Linked DNA regions of Homo sapiens: region 2 is linked to region 1. The links are contacts of gene promoters, found by promoter capture Hi-C in blood cells and fetal thymus (Javierre and others, 2016). All regions are on one chromosome and are shown on one strand. The core of a region is centred on a gene start or on the middle of the fragment in contact, and the rest is flanking DNA. Distances in the headings are between cores, read along the strand shown. Region 1 holds the start of TOM1 (target of myb1 membrane trafficking protein). Region 2 overlaps SLC5A4-AS1 (SLC5A4 antisense RNA 1).

Evidence for each region. The method cuts DNA at HindIII sites, captures the fragments that hold promoters and counts their contacts. A CHiCAGO score of 5 or more calls a contact.
Region 2: a contact is called between a fragment that was not itself captured here and the fragment with the promoter of TOM1 in region 1, in 1 of 17 cell types (M1 macrophages). The highest score is 8.2, in M1 macrophages.

What each region holds. Positions count from the first base shown.
Region 1 is chr22:35,297,904-35,301,678 of GRCh38, reverse strand. TOM1 (target of myb1 membrane trafficking protein) reads right to left here and starts at 1,785. Exons shown (of 15, transcript NM_005488.3): 1 at 1,699-1,785. The coding sequence starts at 1,750. RefSeq lists enhancers at 120-641, 1,052-1,211, 1,165-1,687, 1,612-1,761, 1,688-2,210. The HindIII fragment of the contact is 3,434 bases long and covers 39-3,472 here.
Region 2 is chr22:32,214,837-32,218,611 of GRCh38, reverse strand. All of the region lies in intron 2 of SLC5A4-AS1 (SLC5A4 antisense RNA 1), which reads right to left. It overlaps SLC5A4 (solute carrier family 5 member 4), which reads left to right. Exons shown (of 15, transcript NM_014227.3): 15 at 1-148. The coding sequence ends at 98. Among named protein-coding and RNA genes, the nearest start is that of SLC5A4-AS1, 12 kb to the right of the region's middle. The HindIII fragment of the contact is 3,626 bases long and covers 1-3,550 here.

The DNA.
Region 1 (3,775 bases), core at 536-3,035:
ACGGTGGCGATTACAACACAGAGCCGGGTCGACAAGCTTTCGTGAGGTTTCGCAAGACACTAAGAATGGAAAATATGTCTCATCTTAAAGTTTTCCCAGTCTGGACTTAAGACGAAAAGTCGTCATCAAAAAAGATGAAGAGTAATTTCACGGTAATGCGATGGTTTCTTCATGCAAGAATGCGGAACACCCAAACCATCCTCCGGAGAAGTGTGGCTGTTTGGGTGAAGGCATGTCGGTTCTCATGGTGTTGGTGCCCAAGAATGAGCACCTATGAGATCTACTGCCAAGCGATTTCCAGGGATTCCTAACCTTCACTTGGTGATCTCAGGAACAACGTGTGTGTGTAAATACATATAATATATATGTATGTGTATGTATATGTATGTTTGTATGTGTATATTTTTATATATATGTGTGCGTGTGTGTGTGTGTATGTGTATGTGTTTCAAGAGATGGGCTCTCCCTGCGTCGTCCAGGCTGGAGTACAGTGGCGCCATCAGGGCTCACTGCAGCCCTGACCTCCCAGATCCAATAAATCCTCCCAGCTCTGCCTACCGAGTGGCTGGGTGCACAGGCACGCACCACCACGCCCGGCTAATTTCTGTATTTTTTTTTTTTTTTTTTTTTGTAGAGACGGGGTCTCGCCATGTTGCCCAGGCTGGTCTCGAACTCCTGGGCTCAAGCGATCTGCCCGCCTTGGCCTCCCAAAGTGCTGGGATTACAGGCGGGAGCCACCGTGCCCAGCCCAGTGATAATAAATATTACAACTGTTTTTTTTTATATGGCACTGGCCATGTACCAGGCATTGTTCTAAGTATTTCACATTTATTAAGGAATTTAATCTTCACAACAAGCCCACGGAGGTGGGGACCATTATTGCCCGCCAACTACAGGTGAGGAAACCTCGGCCCAGGGAGGCTGCGTCACAGAACTGTGAGTATCCTGTCACCAGGGTGCAGAGAACCACGGACCAGCAGACAGGCGCCAGGTGCCCTGGGCTTGGCTTGGCCCGAGTTCCCGGCTGCCCCACCTACGGAGCACCGAGATGGGCTGACCAGGAGGGTTTGTCCGACCACTGTCTGCTCAGGTTCTGAGAGTCTGTGCGGGTCCATTTGAGGTTGGGTCGAGAAAAGAGCCCAGGCGGACACGTCCTGAGACCCGGGTCTGTGAGGCCTGGCCGCGGGCTGTCCGGCGCTGGGCCCCTCTGGCCAGTTGGCCCCAAGACGCCAAGCCCGGGGCTTCGCGGTCCTGGGAGAAGGGACTTCTAGCCCTTCTCAGGTGTCTGTGTCCGGAGGGCCCGGTGAGCCAGGAAGGAGCTGGCCAGAGCCCAGGCGGCGGGACCCAGCAGAGTGGCCCAGCCACTGCCAACCACGCAGTCCCTTTAACCACGAAAACTTTCTCCCTCGATTGGGGACCCCAGCAGACGCACATTGGCTGCGCCGTGGGCATCCGGACCCACCCTCTCTCCTTACCTACTGGCTGTCATATACATCTATCACAAGCCAAGGCTTCCTAATGGCCCAAGTTCTTGTCAATCAAGAGTGGGAGGAAAGCTGGGCGGAGCCAGGTCGGAGAGCTACACGCCAGCCTCCTTGCCCTCCCTGCCTCCGTGACTAGGCACCCGGAGGCTTCCCAGGGGACCGAAGCTGGGTGCGGAGCACCGGGGCGGAGCTGTGGGGGGCTCCAGGGACTCACCGATGCGCTGTCCCACTGGAGAGCTGAACGGGTTCCCCAGGAGAAAGTCCATTGCTGCTACCGCCGCTGCCACCAACCCCGGGAATCAGCTGACAGCAACCGCCAGCGCCACCGACCCGTCACGTGACGCACTCGGAGGCCGGCGAGGAGGCGTGGGCGGGGCGGTGGCACCGCGAAGCTCGACCACAAGCCCCGCCCTGAGACGCCAGGGTCCCGCCCCCGAGGCGGAGGGCGATGACCTCACTGCGGCTTGCTCGGCGGCGGCGGGCGTCACACACGATGTAGGGTCTGGGGTCGGGGCCCGGGAAGCGCGGTCCTCTTTAAGCCACGCCCCTGACCTTTTAGGGCGAGGTCTAAAGGACCCTTTACACATTTGGGAAACTGGGTCGTAGACCAGGGAAGTGACTTGGGTGAGTTACACAGAAGCCGAGACTCTTAGGGTCATAGCCCTTAGTCCTTGGGACCTCACTGTGACTGCACACCTACCCTGGGTGACAGCCTCTCTGGGCTGTTGTCTCCTTGTCCCGGTAAGACTCTTCCTGTTTGATGTCAAGGTCTCCCCGCTCCAAGATGCACCCTGCTCGCAGCCCAAATTATCTTACCTTAAATCAGAGGCAAGGGCAAGGGGTTTGTCATCTGTTGAGACTGAGAGGCAATTTAATGAATTGCAGCGCAATTCCCTCTAGCGCCCAGGATGGCAAAAAGCACAGATGTAGTCACGAGTGGGGCTTTAATACCCGTCTCTGCCATAAATTTACTGTGTGAGCCAAACATAGCTCCCATTTTCTCTAGATACTGGAATTAGATCAAGGACTCGTAACCATTTTTAAAAAATATTTTATTTAGGTCACAGTCTCCTTTGAGAATTTGACAAAAGCCATGAGCCTTTCTGAAGAAAAAAGGCAGCGATACAATTTTGCTTATAACCTCAGGGAGTTTCTGGGGTCCCTGAAGTACAACCGTGGACCCCAAGCTAAGAATCTCAAAGGCCTTTCCCAGCGTTGTGATTCTAATCTCTTCAGCCTTCCTGGCTGTGTGTGGTGTGTCTGCTGACACCTACACACTAGATACCTATCTATGGGTTATGACCTTTTCTTCTGGCATGTACTCCAAAAATACAATAACCATGGCCTTAGTAGTCTGGCTACTGTGGGTGCTTAAGTACTTATTGTGATGTTTGTGGTTTTTAAATCTGAAAGGCTAGTAAATTGACTGCACAAATTTTGGATGACAGAAAACCTAAATTAAGCAAGGTGTGGTGGCTCACGCCTGTAATCCCAACATTTTGGGAGGCTGAGGCAGGTGGATCACCTGAGGTCAGGCATTCAAAACAAGCCTAGCCAACATGGTAAAATGCCGTCTCTACTAAAAATACAAAAATTAGCCAGGTGTGGTGGTACACGCCTGTAGTCCCAGCTACTTGGGAGGCTGAGGCATGAGAATTGCTTGGACCCAGGGGGGCAGAGATTGCAGTGAGCTGAGATCGTGCCACTGCACTCCAGCCTGGGTGACAGAGTAAGGCTGTGTCTTAAAAAAAAAAACAAACCTAAATTAGAACTTAATCACCTCTGTAGATTCACTTGTTTGAGCAGCCATGGGGTCCGATGTCTTTACTGTACAATATAAAAACTGCTTTGAAGTGTTTCCACAACACTCATGAGACCTGTTCACAAATGCCTTTGCCCCCACGAGTCTGGATGTCCCTGGGGGCTGGGCTACTATTTCTGTTTTGCTCCCCACTATTGTCTAACCCAGTAACTAGCACATGAAAGCTTAAATAGATCTACGTTTCAGTAATGGTATTTGGAGTATAAGCGGGGAGAAGGCCATTTAAGATGACCTTCAGGTCAAGGCACTTTCCATGTCTTTCTTCACTTAACCTTATTGCTTGGTCATATGGAGTTATGTTTAGCATGAACTTCTTTTGGATTCTTCCATTAACCTTTATTTATTTATTTTTAGAGGCAAAGTCTCACTATGTTGCCCAGGCTGGTCCTTGAACTTCTGAGCTCAAGTGATCCTCCCACCTCAGCCTCCCAAAGCCCTGGGTTACAGGCATGAGCCACCATCTCTGGCC
Region 2 (3,775 bases), core at 488-2,987, 3.1 Mb after region 1:
CAGACACGTCTGAGAGGCCCTCGTGGAGGACAATAGTGAACATCAACGCCATCCTCCTCCTGGCTGTGGTGGTCTTTATTCACGGCTACTATGCCTGAACTCTATCTGAGCCATTAGAATAATGAATAATTCTTAATAATGAACCAAAGGATAATTTTAGTGATTTTAATTTTTTTTTTTTTTTTTTTTTTTTTTTTTTTTTTTTGAGAGGGAGTCTTGCTCTTTCTCCCAGGCTGGAGTGCCGTGGCGCTATCTCGGCTCACTGCAAGCTCCGCCTCCCGGGTTCACGCCATTCTCCTGCCTCAGCCTCCCGAGTAGCTGGGACTACAGGCGCCCGCCACCACGCCCGGCTAATTTTTTGTATTTTTAATAGAGACGAGGTTTCACTGTGTTAGGCAGGATTGTCTCGATCTCCTGACCTCGTGATCCACCTGCCTCGGCCTCCCAAAGTGCTGGGATTACAAGCGTGAGCCACTGTGCCCGGCCATTTTCATGTTATAGTATGTTGTGTGGCAAAAAAAAAAAAAAAAAATGAGCAGTTGGTAATTTTATCTAATGAGATGACTACAGACTTGATATTTTGCTTTTGTTGCTCCTTTGTGTCACTAAGAGTTGATAATTTATAAAACTGTGAAGTGACCTCTACGTGTGCAAACAAGACACACAGGTCTAAATTCTATTTTTCCAGCTTTATTGAGGTATAGTAAACAAATGAAAATGGTTTATATTTAGGATGTACAACGTGATGATTTGATATATGTATACATTCTGAAACAGTAACCACAATCAAGTTAACTAACACATCTGTCACCTCACATGTTTACCTTTTCTGTGTGTGTGGTGAGAACAACTGATAGACTCTTAGTAAATTGCAAGCACACAATACAGTATCATTAGCTACAGTCACCATGCTATCCTTTGCACCCTCAGAATATATTCATCTTATGAATGTTTGTACTCTGACTAATACCTCCCCAGTTACCTACCCCTTCGCCCCAGGCAACCATCATCTACTCTCTGCTTCTATGAGTTCAACTTTTCATTGCAGCACTGTTCACAAGAGCTAAGATACAGAAACAATTTAAGTGTGCTGTGATGGATGAATGATGAGAATGTTGTATATATACATAATGGAATACGATTCAGAACTAAAAATGAAGGAAATCCTGCCACTTGCAACAATGTGGATGAACCTGCAGAACATTATGCTAAGTGAAATAAGCCAGACACAGAAAGACAAATGCTATAGGATCTCACTTATATGTGAAGCCTTAAAAAGAAAATGACCAGGTGATATGGTTTGGCTGTATCCCCACCCAACTCTCATCATGGATTGTAGTTCCCATAATCTCCACGCGTTGTGGGAAGGACCTGGTGGGAGGTAATTGAATTGTGAGGGCGGTTATCCCCGTGCTGCTGCTGTTGTGATCGTGAGTTCTCATGAGATCTGATGGTTTCTGATGGTTTTATAAGGGGCTTCCCCCTACTTCGCTTTGCACTTCTTTCTCTCGCCGCCTTGTGAAGAAGGACGTGTTTACTTCCCCTTCCACCATGCTTGTAAGTTTCCTGAGGCCTCCTCAGCCATGCTGAACTGCGGGTCCATTAAACCTCTTTCCTTTATAAATCACCCAGTCTTGGGTATGTCTTTATTAGCAGTGTGAGAACAGACTAATACACCAGGCAAATTTCCCTACCTCATACTTGCTTTCTGAAGTTTCCAGAGATTTCCATTTGAAAAGAATGCCTCTTCCAACTCTGCCTCACCTAGTAACCTTCTCATCTACACCACAGTGACTTCTCCTGTGAAGCGACCTTCACTCAGTTATTTCAAGGATTTAAAATATAAAAATGTTTTCTAATAGTTGACAGGGGGGTGAACTAGAAATATCCATTGTAAATATCTTTTAAATATACTGGAAATTATTGCTTACATCTTAAAGCCATTTGTCACTGAATACTAAAACATCAAACCATTGATTTTTAACTGCTTCATTAAAATATAATTCACATACTATAAAATGTATCTATTTAAAGCATATAATTCAGTGTATTTTAATATATTCACAGAGTTTTGCAACAATTATCACAATCCAATTTTAGATATTAACATTTATTGGCATCCTTGAATATACGTATTTCTCTGTCTTTATTTCTGTTTTAACACAGTGAATGACAATTATCTCTATGTAGAATTGTAGAGAGGTTTAAGACACACCTTTTTGTAAGCAAGTCAACAAACTAAAATATGTTTTAATAAATTACGTAAGAAACATGGAAGAGGGCCGGGCGCGGTGGCTCACACCTGTAATCCCAGCACTTTGGGAGGATGAGGCGGGCAGATGACGAGGTCAGGAGTTCGAGAGCAGCCCGGCCAACATAGTGAAATTCTGTCTCTACTAAAAATACAAAAAATTAGCTGGGCGTGGTGGCACACGCCTGTAGTCGCAGCTACTCAGGAGGCTGAGGCAGGAGAATCGTTTGAACCTGGGAGGCGGAGGTTGCAGTGAGCCGAGACCGCAGCACTGCACTCCAGCCTGGGTGACAGAGTGAGACTCCATCTCAAAAAAGAAACATGGAAGAGAGAGCACTTTCAGCACATGCTGGAGACTGTCTCTTCCTGGGTAAAAATAATAAAAATTAAAGAAACATATCCATCATATTGTTATAAAAATTCAAACAATGCCCTTGGGTCTGTAGAATTAAATATAATACTCTTCACTGACAACCTAATCCTCTCATCTACTGTCACTAACTTCCCAAAGAAGTGTTGACAAGTTAAAGCATATGTTCTAGTAAGTAATTTTTCTATTAATTTATATACATATGTAAACATACACATACATTTACAAAATGCAATCTTCCTTTATGTGTTATTTTGTGACTGGCTTTTACACATAAAATATATCTTGGAGATCTTTGCCTATCTGTACAAATAGATCTCCCTCATTCTTCTTATAGCTGCACTATTGTTCCATAGGATAGTTCACTATAATTTGGCCACTTTTCTACTAAGGAGCATTCATGTTGGTTTCAATTATTTGCTATTATCTACAATACTCAAATAGACATACCTGTATATTCATCTTTTGACATATTTGCTAGTTTTATTTTCTTTATTTTCCTAGAAATGGAATACTGGAGCAAAGTGTACAAGCATTAATATTTTGATTAAAAATTATGTTTCAAAAAGGATTTGCCAATTTATATTCTCATCAGTATATGAGAGTTTTTATTTACTCACATGCTTGACTACAGGGTATATTACCAATCATAGTGAATTTTTGTCAATTTGATGATTGAAAAATAGTTTCATTTTTTAAATTGGTATTTCTCCACTTACTAGTGAGATTGTATATATTTGCATGTATTTATTAGCTATTCATATTTTTTCTGTGAATTACTTGATATCCTTTACCAATTCTCTAATTCATTTACAGATATTCTTTACATATTCTATATATTTATTATTTGCATATGAATAGCAAGTATTTTGTCTTAAAGTCTATGTCTTGCCTTGTAACTTTATGTTGTCTTTTATTGTACAGAAGCTTTAATTTATATTTAGTCAAATTGTTTCTTTTTCTCTTATGACTTCTGGGTTTTGTGACTTACTTTCAATTGTCTTTTCAGGGTTTTGTTGTCTGTTTTGTTTGAAATGACATACTGAAATCCTACATTATATTGCAATTTACTTTTTTCTCTTTATACTGCATTGTGGACATTACTAAGCCTAACTAATGTAGATCAAATGTATTTATTTTAATTTCTGCCTAAT